5 separate regions of the Homo sapiens genome follow, and regions 2, 3, 4 and 5 are each linked to region 1. Evidence: promoter capture Hi-C in 16 types of primary human blood cells and fetal thymus (Javierre and others, 2016). All regions are on one chromosome and are shown on one strand. The core of a region is centred on a gene start or on the middle of the fragment in contact, and the rest is flanking DNA. Distances in the headings are between cores, read along the strand shown. Region 1 holds the start of POMT1 (protein O-mannosyltransferase 1). Region 2 overlaps NUP214 (nucleoporin 214). Region 3 overlaps NUP214 (nucleoporin 214). Region 4 overlaps NUP214 (nucleoporin 214). Region 5 overlaps NUP214 (nucleoporin 214).

What was found. Contacts are between HindIII fragments. The CHiCAGO score rates a contact against its expected background, and 5 or more counts as called.
Region 2: a contact is called between a fragment that was not itself captured here and the fragment with the promoter of POMT1 in region 1, in 1 of 17 cell types (non-activated CD4 T cells). The highest score is 5.5, in non-activated CD4 T cells.
Region 3: a fragment that was not itself captured here is called in contact with the fragment with the promoter of POMT1 in region 1 in 1 of 17 cell types (non-activated CD4 T cells); the score reaches 6.6 in non-activated CD4 T cells.
Region 4: a fragment that was not itself captured here is called in contact with the fragment with the promoter of POMT1 in region 1 in 6 of 17 cell types (non-activated CD4 T cells, total CD4 T cells, naive CD4 T cells and 3 more); the score reaches 7.5 in non-activated CD4 T cells.
Region 5: a contact is called between a fragment that was not itself captured here and the fragment with the promoter of POMT1 in region 1, in 2 of 17 cell types (non-activated CD4 T cells and activated CD4 T cells). The highest score is 7.9, in non-activated CD4 T cells.

The regions. Positions count from the first base shown.
Region 1 is chr9:131,501,456-131,504,360 of GRCh38, reverse strand. It overlaps POMT1 (protein O-mannosyltransferase 1), which reads right to left and starts at 1,443. Exons shown (of 20, transcript NM_001077365.2): 1 at 1,288-1,443; 2 at 21-172. The coding sequence starts at 142. RefSeq lists enhancers at 1-12, 493-552, 1-789, 790-1,657 and silencers at 1,123-1,272, 1,343-1,542. The HindIII fragment of the contact is 12,581 bases long and covers 1-2,905 here.
Region 2 is chr9:131,206,434-131,209,299 of GRCh38, reverse strand. All of the region lies in intron 30 of NUP214 (nucleoporin 214), which reads right to left. Among named protein-coding and RNA genes, the nearest start is that of FAM78A, 69 kb to the left of the region's middle. The HindIII fragment of the contact is 5,048 bases long and covers 1-2,866 here.
Region 3 is chr9:131,160,182-131,163,077 of GRCh38, reverse strand. NUP214 (nucleoporin 214) reads right to left here. Exons shown (of 36, transcript NM_005085.4): 19 at 1-87. Among named protein-coding and RNA genes, the nearest start is that of NUP214, 36 kb to the right of the region's middle. The HindIII fragment of the contact is 813 bases long and covers 1,172-1,984 here.
Region 4 is chr9:131,127,451-131,130,465 of GRCh38, reverse strand. It overlaps NUP214 (nucleoporin 214), which reads right to left. Exons shown (of 36, transcript NM_005085.4): 2 at 2,747-2,942; 3 at 1,983-2,134; 4 at 989-1,187. Among named protein-coding and RNA genes, the nearest start is that of NUP214, 3.4 kb to the right of the region's middle. The HindIII fragment of the contact is 755 bases long and covers 1,154-1,908 here.
Region 5 is chr9:131,177,182-131,180,049 of GRCh38, reverse strand. It overlaps NUP214 (nucleoporin 214), which reads right to left. Exons shown (of 36, transcript NM_005085.4): 24 at 1,640-1,739. Among named protein-coding and RNA genes, the nearest start is that of NUP214, 53 kb to the right of the region's middle. The HindIII fragment of the contact is 2,208 bases long and covers 189-2,396 here.

The DNA of each region.
Region 1 (2,905 bases), core at 194-2,693:
AATGGAGTCATTTAGCTTACACCACAGCCCGCGGGTAGGTGAGTCGCCACAGCCGGCTCAGTAACCCCATCCCAGTCAGGGCCACAAGGCTCAAGTTGATGTCAGCCGTCACCACTACAGGGCGCTTCAAAAATCCCCACATCTTGTAGAAAAGCGGGCTCAGGCAGACGCCCTAGAAAAGAAGGGAGGAGCCGTGGTCCATGAGGGCTCACGAGAGGCTACAGAAGGGATCCCCAGCCACCCGGCTCCCGGACACACGAGGAGAACCACAGCACAGCCGGGCTGCTGAGAAAGACCGAAGTTCCTGGAGCCTTGGTTCAGGTAGACATGTGGGGTGAGGGGCACTAGCAGTGAACTCGGGTGGGAATTCAGGGGATCTCAGGACTGGACATTCACTCCTTTCAACAACTCATTCCACAAAACCTGCCGAGCACGTCTTGGGCGCGAGAACACTGCTAAGGAACGCCAGGGTTTCTCCCCTCCCTCCCCGACGACCAGAAGCCCACAGTGCGGCCACAGCTACCTGACCCTGGGCAGCTCCTGGGTGCCATCTCAGCTGCTTACAGCCCAGGGACCCCAACCTGGCCGAGCCTCGGGGCCTCCTCATCTCTCCTCAAGGATGCATCTGCCCCCAGTGCCTCCCTGCCTTCTATCCCAGCGGCACATCATCCCCGGGTGCTCCCTTTCTCGCCTGGAGGGTGCATTTGCACCCTGCGCCCCCACGTTCTCCTCCAGGCTTCATCTTCCCTTGAGCTCCGCTTCTCTTGAGGCTGCATCAGGCCTGGGACACCCTGTCTCACACCAAAGCCGCATCTGGCCGTTGGCGCCCCGCTGGTCTCCTCAGGCCCCATCTACCCTGGACGCGCCCTTCCCTCCCTGAGCTGCATCTGCCTTGAGCGCCTTCGTCCCAAAAGGTCCCATCTGTCCTGGGAGTGCCTCCTCTCCCCTTGCAGACCGCATCTCCCTGGCCGGCCCTTCTTCCCCACAGGCCGCACCTGTCCCGTCCACCAACTCCCGAGGCTGCGTCGGCCCCAGCTCCGTCCTCACCCTGAGACTGCACCCGCAGCACGCCCTTCCTCCCTAGGGCTGCACGCGCCACGGAGTTCTTACTTCGGGGCTCGGCCGCCCGAACGCCGCATCTGCCCGGGCCCGAACCCCGCCCCCAGCTCCGGAAAGACGGGGACGCCCCCGGCCCCAGCCCGTCCGCAAGCCAGGGACCCGCGTCCGGCACTGACGGACTCCCCCAAGTCCGGGCTGGGCTCTCGTCCCCGGTGTCCCCAAATGTACCCGCGTTTCTCCGAGTCCACACAGAGCCGCGCCCGGCTCCCGGCAACGCCTCGGAACCGTCCGACTGGGCCGACGGTTGGGGGTGAGGCCGCTCGGCACTCCGCACCACCCACCGCCCTGCTCAACGTTCGATTCACCGAGCCTGCGGGGCCAGACGGGCAGCAGCGCGCGTGCGCACTGGGAGAGGGTGACGCGCGTGCGCAGCGGGCGAGGGCGCCGGTCCCGGAGGAGAGGCAGGTGTGAAACGCGGCGACCTCCCCTCTCTCGGGTGCTACTGTTTTGTGTGCCAGGATTTCTGTGTACTCTAAGCAGACGTGCAGATTTTAAAAAGCGCAGTGGGCTCCCACCCATCTTCTGCTCCTTGCTTTTTCACTCCATCTGGCGTGAAGATCTTAATTCTGCGTCTGCACAACGGCGTTCTGCCGGGCGCGCCAGTTTGCTCCTAGTTTTTTTCTTTTCTTTTCTTTTCTTTTTTTTTGAGACGGAGTTTCGCTCTTGTTGCCCAGGCTGGAGTGCAATGGCGCGATCTCGGCTCACCGCAACCTCCGCTTCCCGGGTTCAAGCGATTCTCCTGCCTCAGCCTCCCGAGTAGCTGAGATTGAAGGCGCACGCCACCACGCCCGGTTAATTTTTGTATTTGTAGTAGAGACAGGGTTTCACCATGTTGGCCAGGCTGGTCTCGAACTCCTGACCTGAAGTGATCCGCCCACCTCGGCCTCCCAAAGTGCTGGGATTACAGGCGTGAGCCACTGCGTCCGACCTTAATTTTTTTTTTAAGACACGGGGTCTCGCTCTGTCGCCCAGGCTGGAGTACAGTGGCAGGACCACGGCTTGCTGCAGCCTCGACCTCTCTGCCCGAAGCGATCCTCCCTCCTCGGCCTCCAGAGCAGCTGAGACCACAGGCACGTGCCCCCACGCCCGCGGGCGCTCCTAGTTTCCTTGCCGAAAAACATCGATGCCACGATCCTGCTTGCACATACATCTAGCGGTGAAGTGGCTGAGGGTAAGGGCATTTAAAACGGACCTAGGGCCGGGGGCGGTGGCTCACGCCTGTAACCCCAGCACTTTGGGTGGCCGAGGTGGGAGGATCCGTGAGCCCGCTTGAGTCCAGGAGAGCCTGGGCAACACAGCGAGACCCCGTCTCTACAAAAAAATACAAAAATTAGCGGGGCCCCTTGGCGTCTGCCTGCAGTCCCAGCTACAAGGGAGGCTGAGGCAGGAGATCACTTGGGGCAGAGAGGTCGAGGCTGCAGTGAGCCTTGGTCTCACCACTGCACTCCAGCCTGGACTACAAAGTGAGACCGTCTCAAAACAAAAAACAAAACCAAAAAAACCTGGACATCAGTGGGGGCTGCATGACCATCAGAGGCTCCAGTGGGGGCATCTCCCCTAAACTCCGTGGCAGAAGACTGGAGGCTTCTTCCTCCATTCCCAGGGCTCCTCCTCATCCATCAGCCTCTCCAGCCCCCTCTGCTGAGGGTCAAGAGCCTTCCCAAAGGCCTGCTTTGGAGCAGACATGGTACTTTTGGTTGGGTCAATGCACCCCTTCCCATGTTTTCCCTGAACAGTCGGCACCCAGAGCAGGGTAACTGACAGCAACGCAACCAGGCTGATGGAT
Region 2 (2,866 bases), core at 249-2,748, 300 kb after region 1:
CTCAAGTGATCCTCCCACCTCAGCCTCCTTAGTAGTTGGGACTACAGGCATGCACTGCCACGCCCAGCCAACTTGTGGGTCTTTTTTTTTGTAGAGATGGAATTTTGCCATGTTGCCCAGGCTAGTCTCAAACTCCTGAGCTCAAGCAATCTGCCCATCCCAGCCTCCCAAAGTGCTGGGATCACAGGTGTGTGTGCCACTGCGCCCAGCCTTAGCATATGGTTTTCAAAGTTTATCTATATGTAGCATGAATGAGAACTTCATTCCTTTTTATTATTTATTTTTTTGAGATGGAGTCTCACTCTGTCGCCCAGGCTGGAGTGCAGTGGCGTGATCTCGGCTCACTGCAACCTCCGCCTCCTGGGTTCAAGCGATTCTCCTGCCTCAGCCTCCCAAGTAGCTGGGACTACCGGCGAGCTTCACCATGCCCAGCTAATTTTTGTTTTTAGTAGAGACGGTGTGTCACCATGTTGGCCAGGATGGTCTCCATCTCTTGACTCATGATATGCCTGCCTCAGCCTCCCAAAGTGCTGGGATTAAAGGTGTGAGCCACCATGCCCAGCCGAGAACTTCATTCCTTTTGTTTTTGTTTTGTTTTGTTCTGAGACGGAGTCTCGCTCTGTCGCCCAGGCTGGAGTGCAGTGGCGCGATCTCGGCTCACTGCAAGCTCTGCCTCCTGGGTTCATGCCATTCTCCTGCCTCAGCCTCCCGAGTAGCTGGGACTACAGGCACCCGCCACCACGCCTGGATAATTTTTTGTATTTTTAATAGAGACAGGGTTTCACTGTGTTAGCCAGGATGGTCTCGATCTCCTGACCTCGTGATCCGCCCGCCTCAGCCTCCCAAAGTGCTGGGATTACAGGCGTGAGCCACTGCACCCGGCCAAGAACTTCACTCCTTTTTATGGCTGAAAAATATCCCATGGAATGTATATACCACATTTTGTTTATCCATTCATCTGCTGTTTGACACTTGGGTTGTTTCCACCTTTTGGCTACTGTGAATAATGCTGCAATGAACATTGATGTACAAGTATTTGTTCGAATCCCTTTTTTTCAATTCCTTTGGGTATTCTACCCCAGAGCAGAATTGCTGGGTCATATGGTAGAAGTACTATATTTAGCTTTTTGAGAAACCACCAAACTATAGTAGCTGCACAATTTTGCATTCCCATCAGCAATGTATGAGGGTTCTAATTTCTTTGTATCATTGCTAACACTGGTTATTTTTATTTTTTACTTTTTAAATGATAGCCATCCTAGGGGGTGTGAAGTGGTATCTTATCTAATTGTGGTTTTGATTTTCATTTCCCTCATTAGTTTAATGCTACTTGATCACCTTTTCATGTAATTACTGGTCATTTATTTTGCTTGCCCCCATCACTGCCAACAGCTCCTTCTCCAGCCAGTACATTTTCTCAGTCTTTGGCAAGTCCTCTCTACTACCTGCTCAAACCCAGACCTGGCATCTGCCCCCAGCAGCTGCTGTGCCACAGTGCTCACACCTATGATGGGCTCCACTCTCTGGAAACCAGTTCAACAAGGCTTTCTGCCACTCTTCAATGGTCCCATTATGACAGATATTTTCCAAAGATGATCACAGCAATACTTCTAGTCACATATGCTCTTCTAGAGCAAGAGGCGGCCTCTGTATCTCCTCTTGAACCTGGATGGGACTTTGTGAGTGCCTTGATGAAGAGGATGCAGCCTAAGTGATGTTCTGTGACTTCTGAGGATAGGTCATAAAAGGTTATACAGCTTCAGCATGGCTCTTCCTCTTTCTTGGAATGTTCCTCCTTGGAACCTAGCCACCACGTTGTGAGGAAGCCCAGGCTACATAGGCCAAATGTAGGTGTTCAGCTAACAGCTCCAGCTAAGGTCTGAGCCAACAGCCAAGCCAACCACTGACATCAGAGTGAGCCTTCAGATGACTCCTGCCTCCAGTCTTCCCTTCTTCCAGCTGAGATCACAGATACTGTGAAGACAAGCCATCCCTACTAAGTCCATCTGAAGTTATGACCTACAGAATCCAAGACTATAATAAATAAGTAGCTGTTGCAGGCTACTAGGTTTTGAGGCAATTTGTTATACAGCAGTAAATAATTCCAATACTGCCAGAGTAAGTGTGACTTCTACATCATCTGGATTTTTCTTGGTGTTATTATGGCAGTGAAGGTTTTCTATATTCTTTTACATCCTAGCCAGAATCTGCCTAGCATCTTTAGAGTTTTCTGAGGATACTTCTGCTACCTGAAAGTTCATTCATTTCCACAATGCCTATCATGTGCCAGACATAGTCCTAAGCATTGGAGATACAGCAATCAATAAAAACAATAAGGCCCCTGCCATCATAGAAAAAACCTTGATTTCAATCTTTGGCCCTTCCAATTGCATACATAATTTCCGTGGTGGAAGAATACGGAGTGGAAGGGGAAGTAACAATATGGAGTTTATCACAGTGATGTTTTCTATTTCTTTGGCTCAACATTGTGCTTGTTAGTTATACATGGAGCTGAAATCTGCTCCTTTTCATAGCTGGATAATATTCTACTATGAGACCAGGTATGGTGTCTCATGCCTGTAATCTCATCAGCACTTTGGGAGGTCCAGGTGGGAGGATCACTTGGGCCAGGAGTTACAGACCAGCCTAGACAATACGGTGAGACCCCATCTCTACAAAAAACTGAAAAAATTAGTTGGGCGTGGTGGTGCACCTGTGGACCTAGCTATTCTGGAGAACTGATAGGAGGACTGCTTGAGCCCAGGAGATCAAGGCTGCAGTTACCTGTGACTGTGCCACTGCACTCCACCCTGGGTGACAGAGTGAGATCCTGTCTCAAAAAAAAAGAAAAGAGGGTTGGGCACAG
Region 3 (2,896 bases), core at 329-2,828, 340 kb after region 1:
TTCAGCCTCTTCCTCTGTTGGTTGATGATTTCCCGATTGTTGGCTAGGGTGTTAAACAGTGTCTCTCGCTCTGGCACAAGCAGGTGCCTGTTGACAACAATGAGAAAAGAATTAAACATGAATGGTTCAAGTAAAGGAATCTCCCAGTAAAAAAACAAACAAGACTACAATGGTAACAGTGAAAATGATAAAATGGAGAACCAGCACTGGACAAGAACCATTAAGAAATTACTAGAAAATAAAAAGGAGATGAAAGCCTAATGAAGATAAAATGGAATGTGGAGAAAACAGCTGGAAACAGGCAGGCCAGTCCTGTAGCAAAGGACAGCATACATTAGGTGAAACCTGAGAGAGGCCCTGGGAAGAAAAGGGCAGGAGTGAGGTGTGAGTCAGGAACCAGGAAAAAGCCAGTCAGCTTTCTACTTAGAATTTATCTGTTTTTCTGAATGTAAATTATATTCAATTAAAAAAAAAAGGTTCACTGGAAGTCTATGGGAGTCAGTTAATTCTTCAGACTATTGTCAAGAAATAGGGGGACAGCATAAGATTTAGCATCAGGAAGGTAACCTGCCCAAAAGAACTAAAACAAGACAGAGACAACAGTAGCTGCCTCTGGGAAGTAGGTCTGACTGTAGAGGGCGACAGGTCTATTTGCTTCCGCTTTTCAGTAGAAATCTTTAAGTAGCTTTGAAATTTTTTTCTGACTGCATTAATTTGCAGAGGGGATAGGAAAAATCATACATATAAAAACATAAGGAATAATCCCACATCAGTTATAAACCAAATTTTCTTTGCTATGGTATGTCAATACAGTCATGTGCCACATAACGACATTTTGGTCAATGATGGACTGCATATACAACGATGATCCTATAAGATTACAGTAGAGCTGAATTCCTATTGCCTAGTGATTTGTGTTACAATTGTCTATAGTAGTCAGTACAAAACCATGCTGTACAGCAGGGGTGTCTAATCTTTTGCTTCCCTGGGCCACACTGGAGGAAGAATTGTCTTGGGCCACACATAAAATATACTAATGCTGGCTGATAAGCTTAAAAAAAAAATCAAAAAAATCTCAGAATGTTTTAAGAAAGTTTACGAATTTGTGTTGGATTGCATTCAAAGCTGTCCTGGGCCACATGAAGCCTGCAGGCCGTGGGTTGGACAAGCTTGCTGTATGGTACTGTGGTCTAGGAGCAACAGGCTATACACCATAAGCGCCTAGGTGTGTAATAGGTGATGTCATCTAGGTAATAAGTACACATAGTGTAAGCACATTCTGTGATGATCATATAATGACAAAATCGCCTAACAATGAAATTCTCAGAACGCACGTTAAGCAACAAGTGACTCTATGTATATTTTGCCTCAACACAAATCATGGAATGAAAAATGCTTGCTAAACAGAAACCTCTGGATTTATTTCCCTTTTTCCCATTACCTCTTTGAGTTCAGGGCTGACTTGAATGACTGCCTCTGGTAACAAGGTAGTTCAACATATAATTTTTAAAAGGCATTTCAGGCCAGGCGCGGTGGCTCACGCCTGTAATCCCAGCACTCTGGGAGGGCGAGGTGGGTGGATCACGAGGTCAGGAGTTGGAGACCAGCCTAACCAACATGGTGAAACCCCATCTCTACTAAAAATACAAAAATTAGCCAGGTGTGGTGGCACGCACCTGTAATCCCAGCTACTCAAGGAGGCTGAGGCAGGAGAATCGCCTGAACCCCGGAGGCGGAGGTTGCAGTGAGCCGAGATCGCGCCACTGCACTCCAATATGGGTGACACAGCGAGACTTAGTCTCAAAAAAAAAAAAAAAAGGCATTTCAATAGGGTTCAAGGTAATATTCAGGGATGGCCCTGAAACAGAGAAGTGCTATCAAAATAGAAAATTGTACAGATTTAAGAATTTGAACTCTGCAGAAAGAGAACTCAGAAAAGCATAAGTAGTAAATCCACAGAATTGTTACAAAGGAAAAAAAAGCTTGGCTTCTCTTTAAGCATCATGCACTTTCTTACAAGGCTAACTTGTTAATTACCAAAAAGAAATACAACCATTGAGCAGAGCAGAATGTACCCACTGTAAGGTTAGACCATTGTTTCCCTTGTGGGAAAGCAAACCATATGGTTAAACATGAATCAGAACCAGGTGTGTGAGCTAGTTCTCTAATGGGGCCCCACTGCCCATGGAGACAAGTGCTCCAGTCCACAGGCCACAGAATTCTCCCCTTAGATAGTGGCGGAGGAGAGCTTCTCACTTCTATCTCCCTATACCTATCTATGCTGCAAGCTGAGGGTCCTCCAGTTGGGATTTTTAGCCTTTCTCCACATAACACAATGTAATTTATTGAATTGTGCTTACTAAATTATAAGCATATTATAGTCCTGTCCCTGATATCACACCCAGGTTGTCCCACTGAAAAGTACATCAAATAGACCATTTCTTGGTTTGTTTTCATACAGGGCTAGCTAATCATTAATCAAGTGTAGGTGTTTCAGAAATCTAACATTTCATGGCTGATTCATTTTTCAAATTTCTAATGGGCACTTCATGCTCTCATGGTGCATGACATTCTACTCCTTGTGGAAAATATGTGGCTTAAAACCAAATATCTAGGGATAAAAAACTATGCTAAAAGGTTTTCCCATTACTTTGCCATCATTTCTCTCATCTTTTTAATTATCCACACTAATTACAAATGTTTTCTAAAAAAGAAAATTTGAAATATACAGAAGAGTATTACGGAAAATTCTCCTTAATCCCGTTTTGCAGATATAACTACGAATATTTTGTTACATCTATTTACTTTTGTACCTCCACATTCTTATTAGCCAATATGCTTTTGTCTTTTTACTTATTAAATTTTTATATTACATCTAATAATTATAGCGAAATAG
Region 4 (3,015 bases), core at 282-2,781, 370 kb after region 1:
TCCAAATACCAAGAAATCACTGGCCGGGCACAGTGGCTCATGCCTGTAATCCCAGCACTTTGGGAGGATGAGACGGACGGATCACTTGAGGTCAGAAGTTCAAGACCAGCCTGGCCAACATGGTGAAACCCCGTCTCTACTAAAATATACAAAAATTAGCTGGGCATGGTGGCAGGCACCTGTAATCCCAACTACTCTGGAGTCTGAGGCAAGAGAATTGCTTGAACCCAGCAGGTGGAGGTTGCAGTGAGCTGAGATCGCGCCACTGCACTCCAGCCTGGGCGACAGAGCAAGACTCTGTCTCAAAAAAAAAACAAAAAAAAAAAAACAAAACCAGAAATCATTCTCCTGCTCCCATTTAATATTTAAAATGCTTTTCCGCCCAAAGGTACAAATGACTTTCAGAGTACCACCGTTACAGATCCAGAAACAATTATTCCCAAAAAACACTTCTAAACCAGCTGTACCAAAATATTTCTCCAGAAATCCCAAGTACATTCAGGTTAAATTATGTATGCTGTTTGGCTTCAAGGACATTAACTATGGGTATAAAGAATACTCTCAGCCGGGCACAGTGCCTCACACCTGTAATCCTAGCATATGCGGGGTGGAGGAGGGCAGATCACTTGAGGTCAGGAGTTCAAGACCAGCCTGGCCAACATGGTGAAACCTTGTCTCTACAAAAAATACAAAAATTAGCTGGGCATGGTGGCGCATGTCTATAATCCCAGCTATTTGGGTGGCCGAGGCACGAGAATTGCTTGAACCCAGGAGGTGGAGGTTGCAGTGGCTGAGATGATGCCACTGTACTCCAGCCTGGGCGACACAGTGAGACTGTCTCAAAAAAGAATACCTTCCATCCTTAACCTCCCTCGTCATGAAAAAAAAAACCAAAACACAAAAAGCTATCCACTTTCACTTCTAGAAATCAATTCTTAAGTAGATGACCATGATTGTATGCTACAGTGTGAAAGCCTTTATTACTCACCAGAGGTTACTGCTACCGTGGAAGGAAGAGTTGCACATACTTTCACTGTTTCCGTGACTTGCAGGACAGCAATACTACCATCAGCCAGACAAACTGCCACCATGGAGGGGACAGTGGGGTTCCACTTCATATCAATCACCATGCCTCCTGCATCTTTCAAAAGCTTATGATAGGCAAATGGGCGTTTTTGCTGTTTAGCCTTTTAAAACAAATATGCAAAAGTGAAATAAGTTAACAAATAGTAAATGCAGAAACATTTAATATTCAATGGAAATTACTGAATACACAAGGTATCTCAAATCAGTTTATTTTTCTCCATAACCATAAAAAAAGATTGTTTTATGCATCAATCTATTTGCTATAGACAATTTCAACACAACTTTGAAAATGGCAATCAATTATTCTAACATGCTTAGGGGGACTCTCAGAAGGGGAATGCACAATTGCAAAATAACCAATAAATAGCAGACAATAGATTAAAATCTTGGCTCTGCTTCTTAATAATGTTGGGACCTTGGACAGTTACTTAAACTCTGAGCCTGTTTCTCTACCTATAAAATGAAGATAATAGTACCTACTACATAAGGCTGTGGTAGGCATGAACGAGGGACAAGGCATATAAAGCACTTAGTACAGAGTCTAACACACACAGTCAGTATAAACACTCACTATTATTATCATTCTTAAACTGCTTGGAATGGAAGAACATCCAAAATGTAGGAACTTTTGACATTATGTATTCATCTATGACTTTGGGCAAGTCACCTAAGCCTCCTGATAACAACTTAGGGCAGATGGCGTTATGAAAGAATTTCTTGAAGTCCCTTCTGTCTCAAAGATCTATGATTCTATAATTAAGGATTTTTTTTTAACCCATATTTTAATCTAGAGAGAAACTTCAAGGGTTAACCTATGAAGCTTCCAAGTTGTAATTCAATACAAGGAAATCTGCTTAGGGTTCTCATGTTGACATCACAGTATAACAGTAGCTTACCTCATTTGAGAATGTGCGAACATCAAAAAAAGCAATAATGGAACCATATTCACTGGACATCATGCACGCAGAGAGTGTGAGGTTATCACAGCTCAAGGCCAGGTGATGGATTGGGAATTTCATAGGAACTAGCAAGCCTTGGACTTTATCAACTATGAAAACAAAAAAATACAAAGCAGAAAACGGTATGTTCTAAGCATAAAGCCACAACCTCTATCCAGTTCGATGTGAAAAAATTTTTGCATCTACATAAACACACATACACCCCAATACCTAGTTATACAGATAAATCTTAACTTTCTTAAAGATATATAATGATGGATTAAGTATCCCTGGAATTCTTCCTCATACAATCTGGGGAAACTAACTGTGGCTGCTGCCCTTGTTGAAAATATTTTTGCAACAATGCTCTAAATAGTACACCTTGCCAATAGTTTGGATCATACTGTTGTGCCAACTGAAAACCCATGCCAATAAAACCCTTCACCCAGAGAGCCAGAGCCCAAGTTCAACTGAGCAAAAATAAAAGCATGGCATAATGGTTAAGTTCTTCCCTGTTGAGCTGAGAGGAACAACTCATGTAAGGAGAAATACAAAGGACCAAGGAGAAAACCTAGAAAGGCTTCCATTAATCTTCTTGGGAGTCAACCTTCAAACTGACAGCAGTGTTCATTTTAGTATTAGAATGACTTCTTGGGAAGGAAACACAAGAGCATGCCACCATACTCCTCTCTCTACTTTGCAACATAAACCAGGGAACTTACCTATTTTGTTGGGATCATCTCCGGGTTTATTTTGAATAAGAAGATTTTTAGTAGGAAAAATCTGCAAGCCACTGGCTCCACCAGCGAAGACCAGACCATATTTGTTGGACACAGCAAGCAGACTCGAGCGTTCCTTGGGCAATTCCTCAGGGGAGTCAAAGATTCTCACCTTCTTTAGCGCTCTAAACTGAAAATCCTGTTGTGAAGAATCAAAACGAGATCAATTCAATAAAGAAAGAAATTAAAACATGTTATATTCAGTAGACCCA
Region 5 (2,868 bases), core at 43-2,542, 320 kb after region 1:
TGGAATCTCCAAAAGGTGCTTCTCATACATGGTTAGCACCTAATATATCTCAGAAACACTAGACAATACTTCCTGTACCATATGCTGAGTTTTCCCATCTTATGTAACATTCTGCCTTGCCTTCCCTATGCTGGGAATCTGGCTACAATTCCCAAACTCTAATGCATAGTTCTTTCCCTTGAAAAGCTTGCAACAACCACAAATACCATCTTGGTCTAAACAGCATACCAAGGCTCCGAGGTCACTACAAAATAGTAATAGAGAAGGCTTGTTTTTTGGCTGTTAGTATGGCCCTGAGATAACTAAAAATTCCTCAAACAAGCAGTGTTGATAAACAGAACAACATGGAAAAAAAGAGGCCAGCGGACCAGTGAGGCAGGGCCACTTGAGAGAGGGAAAACAGAACCGTGGGCAGATCTGCTCTGTGCAATGGCAGAGGGTGGGCACGCTGTGGAGAACCACAAGGTCTATGGCTGCCCTTCTTGCTGCTAGACTAATCATGGGTACCAGACACTAACTCCCTGAAATCTGATACTAGTCCTCAAGATCCCCATGTTCCAAGTGAGGAAATGTCCCTCAACTCTTCCCTTTGCCACAGGGGATGGTGGTTGGTCTAAAGGGATCACAGTCACAAAATATGCAGGGCAAAGCAGGGCACAGGCATGTTCTGCGAACCTGCCCAGGGCAGCGGGAGGGAGTCAGCACCCTGAATTCCGAACACAGATGAGGACTAAAGACAAATGAGCTAGGCTGGGCACAGTGGCTCCTGCCTATAATCACAGCACTTTGTGAGGATGAGGTGAGAGGATCACTTGAGCCCAGAAATTTGAGACCAGCCTGGGGTGACATGGCAAAAACTCCATCTCTACAAAAAATTAAAAAATTAGCTGGGTGTGGTGTCATGTGCCTGTAGTCCCAGCAGCTACTTGGGAGGCAGATATGGGAGCATGGCTTGGGCCCAGAAGGTTAAGGCTACAGTGTGCCATGATCGTACTGCACTCTGCACTCCAGTCTGGGCAAGAGTGAGACCTTGTCTAAGAAAAAACAAAAAACAAAAAACAACAACAACAACAACAACAAAACCACCACCACCACCAAAAAAACAAGTGAGCTCCACCAGCAACAATCCAGCCCTCAAACATGGCATGGCAGAGAAGCTAAAGTCTCCAAACAGAGGTGCTGTCTTTTATACAAAAGCAAAAGAAATGGGAAGAACAGAAATGCCTGGAGAAGGGAAGTGAGGGAGGAGAGTGTCACCCTTGAGATTACAGTTTCCAGAATCAAGTCTGCATGAGACCCAAAGCATCAACTCTGGAACCCCTAGGGCATTAAAAAAAAAAAAAAAATCAACCTGCACACCTAATGTGTACCACACAGAGACTTACACATGGCAAACAGAAACTGAGCATACAGCATCAAGACAAACTTTAAAAGTTTGTGAGGCAACTGTCACCGGCCAGTTAAAAAGGACAGTCTCCTGAAAATGCATTGTGTAGGCAGGCTTAGCCGCCACCCCCCTTATAACCTAAGGCGGTGCAGGAAAACCAGACTGTGACAGTGGCACTGCTGCTCCCTGCAGGCAGTCCACCGCTACTACAGAAGCAGCCAGGGGCTGAAACACACTGCAGTCAGAACATACCCCATGGCTGTAGAAGGGGTTGCAGGGTTATTCTTCAATTCCTGCACATTTACCACTTGAGGGACATTCTTCAACGTTGATTCAGTCAAAGTGTTTACAGCTAATTTAAACAGAGAAGAGAGAACACCATATTAATTCCAGCAAAGGATAAAAAGTTCTAGCCACATATAAATGAAAAACCAAGACATGAGCCCAAGCAGATTAGAGCCTTATCATGTGAAGGAAATCTACTCTAGGTAGTTCTTGCAGCATTGTGTTCAAAGGAACACCTGGCCTACTCCATTAACACAGGTGATGGAACAAGGCTTCCTGTAACTGAATCGAATGTACTAGAGTAGGGGAAAAGAATTCTCTGGCCAGCTTTTCTACACAGAGCTGAGACACCTGCCACACTGCTGGTCTGTCCTGGAAAAGGGCAGCTTGAGCTAGAGGATTAACAGCATCTAGACTCAGGATTTCTGCCACTCATTCACTGTCTTTCTTTAACATGGGCTTATTATGTGCCAGGCTCTGTGTTAGGGGCTGCGAATACAAAATGTATCTATAGTTTCTTCTCTAAAGAAACTCATGGCCTAGTGAGACAGAAAGGCATAATGAATAAAATGTGGAAAATGGAGCTTGGACAATAATGGGAGAAGAGACTAAGAGGCATATATCTGACACCTCCTCATCAGCTTTCGTCTTATAATTGTAAATTGTATCCCAAAAGACTTAATGACATTCTATAATTAGCAATTAAGGAAGCCTGAGCAAAGCTTGTGGCTCATTACTAACTGCATCACTGGCCAAGGTGAAAGTGGTTATCACAAGCAGAATGACAGACCTGTAGTTAATTCTCTTTTATTCCCTCTTTCAAAGAAGTGACCAGAACATCTTGCCCACGACTGCACATCTTTCATATTTCATATTCAAAGGTGCCTATACCTTAGAAATTTTTGCATCCAACATGATAATACAGATCACACCACCTTCTGCTGAGTGGAACAATCCTCAATCCTAATAGATTTTAACGTTTTACAGATCATTGACTTGATCAACTTGATTTCAGGCCTGTTCAGCACAATGGCAAGATTCTACCTGGTCCAAGTAATATTTAAAGAGATCAAAGAATTCTATTTTTAGAAAGCCCAAAGGTACCTCAAAAGTTATCTTTGTTTTGTTCTTCAATATATATGTTAGATGTCTTAATAAAGGTTTTAATATTTGAATTTTTCTTTACAATCTTTTGA